Linked DNA regions of Homo sapiens: region 1 is linked to region 2. Evidence: promoter capture Hi-C in human tissues and cell types (Jung and others, 2019). All regions are on one chromosome and are shown on one strand. The core of a region is centred on a gene start or on the middle of the fragment in contact, and the rest is flanking DNA. Distances in the headings are between cores, read along the strand shown.

Region 1 (3,006 bases), core at 147-2,646, 64 kb before region 2:
CAGCAGACTTTTCAGCAGATACCTTACACAGGAGAAGAGAATGATATGGTATATTCAAAGTACTGAAAGGAAAAAATTGTCAGTCTAGATTTTTATTTTCTGCCAGAATAAGCTTCATAAATGAAGGAGAAATAAAGTTTTTCCCAGAGAAGCAAACACTGAGGGAAATTGTCACCACTATACCAGCCCTAAAGGAAATGCTCAAAGGGGTCTTAAACATGGAAACAGAAGGTTGATATTCACCATCACAGAAACAAATGAAAATATAAAACTCATAGGTCTTATAAAACAATCACACAAAGGAGGAAGAGAAAAGGATCAAATGGCAACATGACAGAATTTCATCAAACCACAAAGAGAAAAACACAGAGAAAAAAAAAAGAAAGAAATAATTTATAAAACAACTTGAAAACAATTAACAGTGACAGGAATAAAGCTTTACATATCAATATCAACCTTGAATGTAAATGGACTAAATGCTCCACTTAAAAGATATAGATTGGGCCGGGCGCGGTGGCTCACGCCTGTAATCCCAGCACTTTGGGAGGCCGAGGCGGGCGGATCACGAGGTCAGGAGATCGAGACCATCCCGGCTAAAACAGTGAAACCCCGTCTCTACTAAAAATACAAAAAATTAGCCGGGCGTAGTGGCGGGCGCCTGTAGTCTCAGCTACTTGGGAGGCTGAGGCAGGAGAATGGCATGAACCCGGGAGGCGGAGCTTGCAGTGAGCCGAGATCCCGCCACTGCACTCCAGCCTGGGCGACAGAGCGAGACTCCGTCTCAAAAAAAAAAAAAAAAAAAAGATATAGATTGGCAGAATGCATTAAAAACATGACTGAACTATATTCTACATACAAAACTCATCTTACCAATAAAGACACACATAGACTCAAAGCAAAGAGGTGGAAATAGATATTCTACACAAAAGGAAACCAAAAGTTAGCAGAAGTAGATATATTGTATCAGATAAAACAGACTTTAAATAAAAAGCAGGAAAAAAGACAAAGAAGGTCATCATATAATGATAAAGGGATCAATTCAGCAAGAGGATATAGCAGTCCTAAATGTATATGCATTCAACATTGGAGCACCCAAATTAATAAAACAAATATTACTAGACCTAAAGAGGTGGCAATACAATAATAGCGGGAGCTTCAACATCCCACTCACAGGACTAGATAGATCATCAAGACAAAAAATTAACAAAGAAACATTGGACTTAAATTGGACTTTAGACTAAATGGACTTATACAGAACATTCTATGCAACAACTACAAAATATACATTCTTTTCATCAGCATATGGAATATTCTTCAAGATAAACCACGTTAGGTTATAAAACAAGTCTTAACAAATTTTAAACAATTGAAATTACCTCAAGTATCTTCTCAGACCACTGTGAAATAAAGGTAGAAATCAATACCCAGAGGAACTTTGGAAACCATAAAAATACATGGGAATTAAACAACATGCTTCTGAACAATCACTGGGTCAAGAAAGAAGTTAACACAGAAATTAATTTTTTTTTGAAACACATGAAAATAAAAATGCTATATACTAAAACCTGTGGGATACAGGAAAAGCAGTGCTAAGAAGGAATTTTATAGCATTAAATACCTACATCAAAAAGTAGAAATATTGAAAATAAGCAACCTAACAATGCAAACTAGAAATGCTAGTTTGACAAGGAACTAGAAAAGCAAGAACAAACCAAACCCAGAATTAAAAAGAATAACAGAAATAACAAAGATCAGAGGAGAACTAAATGTAATAGAGACCAACAAAAGTTTACAGAGGACCAATGAAACAAAAAATTGGTTCTTCAAAAAGATAAACAATATTGACAAACCACTAGCTAGACTTACCAAGAAGAGAAAATCCAAATAAACACAATCAGAAATGAAAAAGAGACATTAAAACATGCCACAGAAATACAAAGATCATCAGAGACTATTATGAACAATTATATACTTACAAACTAGAAGACCTAGAGGAAATGGATAAATTACTGAAAACATCTCCTGAGATTGAACCAGGAAGAAATAAAACTCCTGAACAGATCAATAGTGAGTAGTGAGATTAAATTAGTAATAAAAATATTCCAGCAAAAAAAACCCAAGACCAGCTGAATTCTACCAAACAAAGAACTAATACAAATCTTCCTGAAACTATACCAAAAAATCAAGGAGTAGGGAATTCTTCCTAACTCATTCGATGAGGCCAGTGTCACCCTGATACCAAAACTAGACAAAGATACAACAAAAAAGAAAACTACAGACCAATATCCCTGATGAATCTAGTCATCCATGACCTTCTTTGTACTGTTGAGTAGCAGTTTCAGGCAACTGCAGAATCTTGTGGAGCAACACTTGAGATTCTGGAGTAGAGAGAGGTTTCTCATTTACATGTACATGTCAGACACAGTCCTGGCCTTGCAGGTAGGGCCTCTGAAGGCTCCACATGGAACGGGAAGAGGCAGAGCTCAACTCAGAATCTTCAGATTTTCCATCTACACAGACTCTTTCTTCTCTGCTCCCCCTTCTCTGGCCTTTGGTTGTTTGAAAAGGAAAATGGCTTAGTGTGGGTGAATGGGTGCGTGTGTGTGTGTGTGTGTGTGTGTGTGTGTGTGAGAGAGAGAGAGAGAGAAAGAGGAGAAAGACTTTCTCTTTCTGAAATATCATCACCTGACCCAATCCTTCTCCTTTTTGCCTTAGCTGTTGGGTTGGGGGAGAAGTTCCCAGTGAGGTTTCTGTGCCTGAGCTTACCATAATTTTATGACTTTCCATTCAAGTTGATAAGGCTTCTAACGCACAAAGTCTGCACGTGGAAAAAGAAAGAATTGTGTTCTTTTGCACTGGTTTTCATTGTGCAAAATGCTTTCTTGCCAAAGTTCTGCTGATGAGGTTTACTCAACAGGGAAGAGTGCAGATTTGTTAGAAGTGGTGGATCTGGCTTCTGGGATGGTCACCTTCTGGAGGTGAGTACCCTGGGGTCTGTAGAGACCT
Region 2 (2,991 bases), core at 393-2,892:
CTGCAGCTGAGGGGAAATTAAGGGGACAGTCGGTCCCCAGGAATTGGAATTCTGGTAATTGCACCAGGTTTCTCAGGGTTCGGTTCCCCCTAGAAACACAGGTGGAATTGCTTCAGTTTGTATTCTATGCCAAAGTATGCCCCCAGTTCTAAATATGGCAGGCTTGGTCACTCTGCTGTTTCTTACTTCAGCAGCACCTCTGGAACCAACCTTCCCCTCTCTCCACAAACTTAACTGCCCTTTTCTCACCCTCTAAGGAGACCTCCTGGCATGTGTGTTCACAGGAGCCCAGGGAGCTCCTTGGGAAGAAGGCAGGGGTCTCTGTGGAGTGTTTCCAGGAGGGTGTGGGCTGTTTTCTGCTCCTCACCTTCCCCAACAGTGAGCAGCTGTCAGCACGAAGTCGTCTCGTATCAGGAAGCCACCGCACCTCTTCAGAGACTTCTGATCCCAGATCATAAGATAAGCCATGTAGGGGCGGGAGTGGGGCTTGGCCTCATGTCCCCCGATGATCTCCCCTGAAGGAAAAGTCTGTCTGCTTGTGGGCACCCATGGAATCTGCTGGGTGGGCACCTGCTTAGTGGCTCCAGAACTCCTGGGCATTTGGGAGCCTGGGATAGCCTGGAGTTGGGAGTGGCCTGGAGGAAGGGGCTTCAATTTCCTGCTCTGAAAAAGGGAAGAACAGCAGACTTTGGTCTGTAAATCTTTCTTCCATATGTAGTTGAAGGCGAGCATACCTGTCTTAGGGACAGTGAAATCCCAGAGGCTCCTGATCATTCCTCTCCTGACTTTGCTTTGTTTCAGGTGAGTTTCCAAGACCCTTATGAGTCCTGTGGTGTCTAGGATAGTGCTGCTTTCTAATGGCCAGGGTGTAAGTGGAGGGATCTAGATACTGTCATATCCTGTTTCCTAGAGCCTGACATGTAGTGGGTGCCCAGTAAATGTTCATGGCTGCATGATGGACTGGCTCCAGTTAGCCTCTGGATGAGGGCTGGTAGAGCAGTGCTGGTGGAATTCTAGAAAGCAGGGAAGCTGGGGCCTGCCGTAGTGCCTCATCCTTGGAAAGAGGGGAGCCACCAAAGGCCAGGGAAGAAAAGCAGAGTTGGAGAATGGGACTGAGCAAACACATTAACAGTGTTCTGAGGACAGTGATTGTACCAATTCTGCTGTCAGCTGAGCTCTGGGTTTCTCTCCTAAGTAGACAGTGAGAGAAGCACCTGTCTTATCCCAGAAACAGAAGCCAGGCCTACTCTAGAATAATTTAATATTTCTCTTTTCTAGTTTCCCATCCTCTGCCATTTACTTCTAGGAAAGTCCTACTCTCCAGGTGACAAAGGTGGGCTCTGGGGAAGGGATAGTACCCACTGGCTCTTCTTGAGAATGGCCTGCTGCTCTGCCATTCCTGCTGATAGCTTATCCAGCATCACACTTGGGGGGTCTTGGTAGAATGGGAGCTGGAGTTCAGAACATTCCTGGTAGATAGATGGATCAGGAATGTGGAGAAAGGGCAGGAGACCTGTGGGATGGGGTTGGGCCCCCGAGGGTGGAGACGGTCACTCACCTGCATCTGCCCTGGGCAGCAGGAGGAAGGCCAGCAGAAGCAGGATTGGTTGCATCTTCTCAGGAAGGCTGCCCTGGTTGGAGCTGCTGTTGTTTCCTCCTTGCTCTCTTTTAGCTCTTGGGAGAGGAAAGAGGTGGAGCAGGCTCAGTGACTTCATGTTCCCCTCTGGTTTTGTGGTGTCTCATCACAGATTTTCTGTAAATGCTGCCCACCCCCACTGCCTCTGCCTGATGACGTCCTCTGGGTGCTTGTGTGAGAATCATGCAGTGACCACATCATCACCCACAGCTGATGACTCAGAGTGGACCACCTATTCAGCCCAGAGCAGGAACCCAAGCCTATGAAGTGAATTGTAGGATGTGGTATCAGCCAGTAGAGGTACTGGAGCACCAGAAACCTGAGTTCCCAGTGATAGAACCGCCAATGCCTCATGGCCATGCTGCTAAATCCATCAGGATAGTTTCTTTAGCAGGTATGTGTTTGAGCCCTTCTGTTGTGCTAGAACCAAGCATGTTGGAGATGTGTCTCCTTCACTTAGAGAGCTGACCATCTGGTTGAAGAGACGGAAATGCCAGGAGCCAGAGTACAGTTTGGGGAGGGCTATGGTAGCACAATACACAAGGCAGTAACAAAGCATGGCCACCATCTACTAGACCCATCTAGCAACCCATTTATTATCATAGCTTCCTTTCTAGAGAATTTCTAACATCCCTTATTTAGTTACAAATGTTTAGTGTGAGAGTCCACCTCTTTTCTGAATGCTTTCAATAAAAGTCCTGTACTTGACATTTTATTGGGCTAGATTAATGAATTGCTAGGAGTCAAATCCACTTTGGGTAGGCTGGGGTCAGTCTACTCAAGCCACTAGAACCAAGAATGAGAAAGGGCTGGTTCTCTAAAGGACGTTTGTGGTGCTAAATTGCTGATACCATATGAAGTGAGGAAGCATGCCAGGCAGCCAAAGATCAGTAGTTGTGTTGTTTAGTATTCTGTCTCCTGTCCAGAGAGCCACACTTCTTACATAGCAGGCTCAGCACATAACAGGCTCACAGTAAACATTTGCTAAACAAACTACACTAATGCTATCATTATAATGGATGTGAAAGATTGTTGTTTCTGAACAGCCCGTGCCCAATTCTGTTAAAAGACAACTAAGTCTCTCTACATGGTTCGATTCTTGTGATTTGTTTCCACCTTTATATTTTCTGTGAGGAAATTTTTCTATGAGGAATGGTATATCTCAAAATATAGAATTCCAGTGTAAACGTCTTCCTTGTCAATAGCAAGCCAACTACATTTATCAAACTTCTATTTTTTGAACCTAGCTTGCCCCATAGTAGACGTTTTAAAAATAATTTTTTCTGATTATAGTCATAATATATGTTTGTTAAGAAAATTTGGAAAGTAGGAAGGGAAAATATCACTTTTTAACC

Evidence for each region. The method cuts DNA at HindIII sites, captures the fragments that hold promoters and counts their contacts. A contact is called where the count stands out against the background at its distance.
Region 1: a fragment that was not itself captured here is called in contact with the fragment with the promoter of GZMB in region 2 in 7 of the 25 tissues and cell types used here (H1 embryonic stem cells, adrenal gland, bladder and 4 more).

Annotation. Positions count from the first base shown.
Region 1 is chr14:24,568,344-24,571,349 of GRCh38, forward strand. No RefSeq gene overlaps it. Among named protein-coding and RNA genes, the nearest start is that of CTSG, 6.4 kb to the right of the region's middle. The HindIII fragment of the contact is 6,762 bases long and covers 1-3,006 here.
Region 2 is chr14:24,632,548-24,635,538 of GRCh38, forward strand. GZMB (granzyme B) reads right to left here and starts at 1,643. Exons shown (of 5, transcript NM_004131.6): 1 at 1,559-1,643; 2 at 368-515. The coding sequence starts at 1,613. It overlaps GZMH-AS1 (GZMH and GMZB antisense RNA 1), which reads left to right and starts at 555. Exons shown (of 3, transcript XR_007064087.1): 1 at 555-801; 2 at 1,749-2,991. RefSeq lists an enhancer at 1,022-2,221. The HindIII fragment of the contact is 16,614 bases long and covers 1-2,991 here.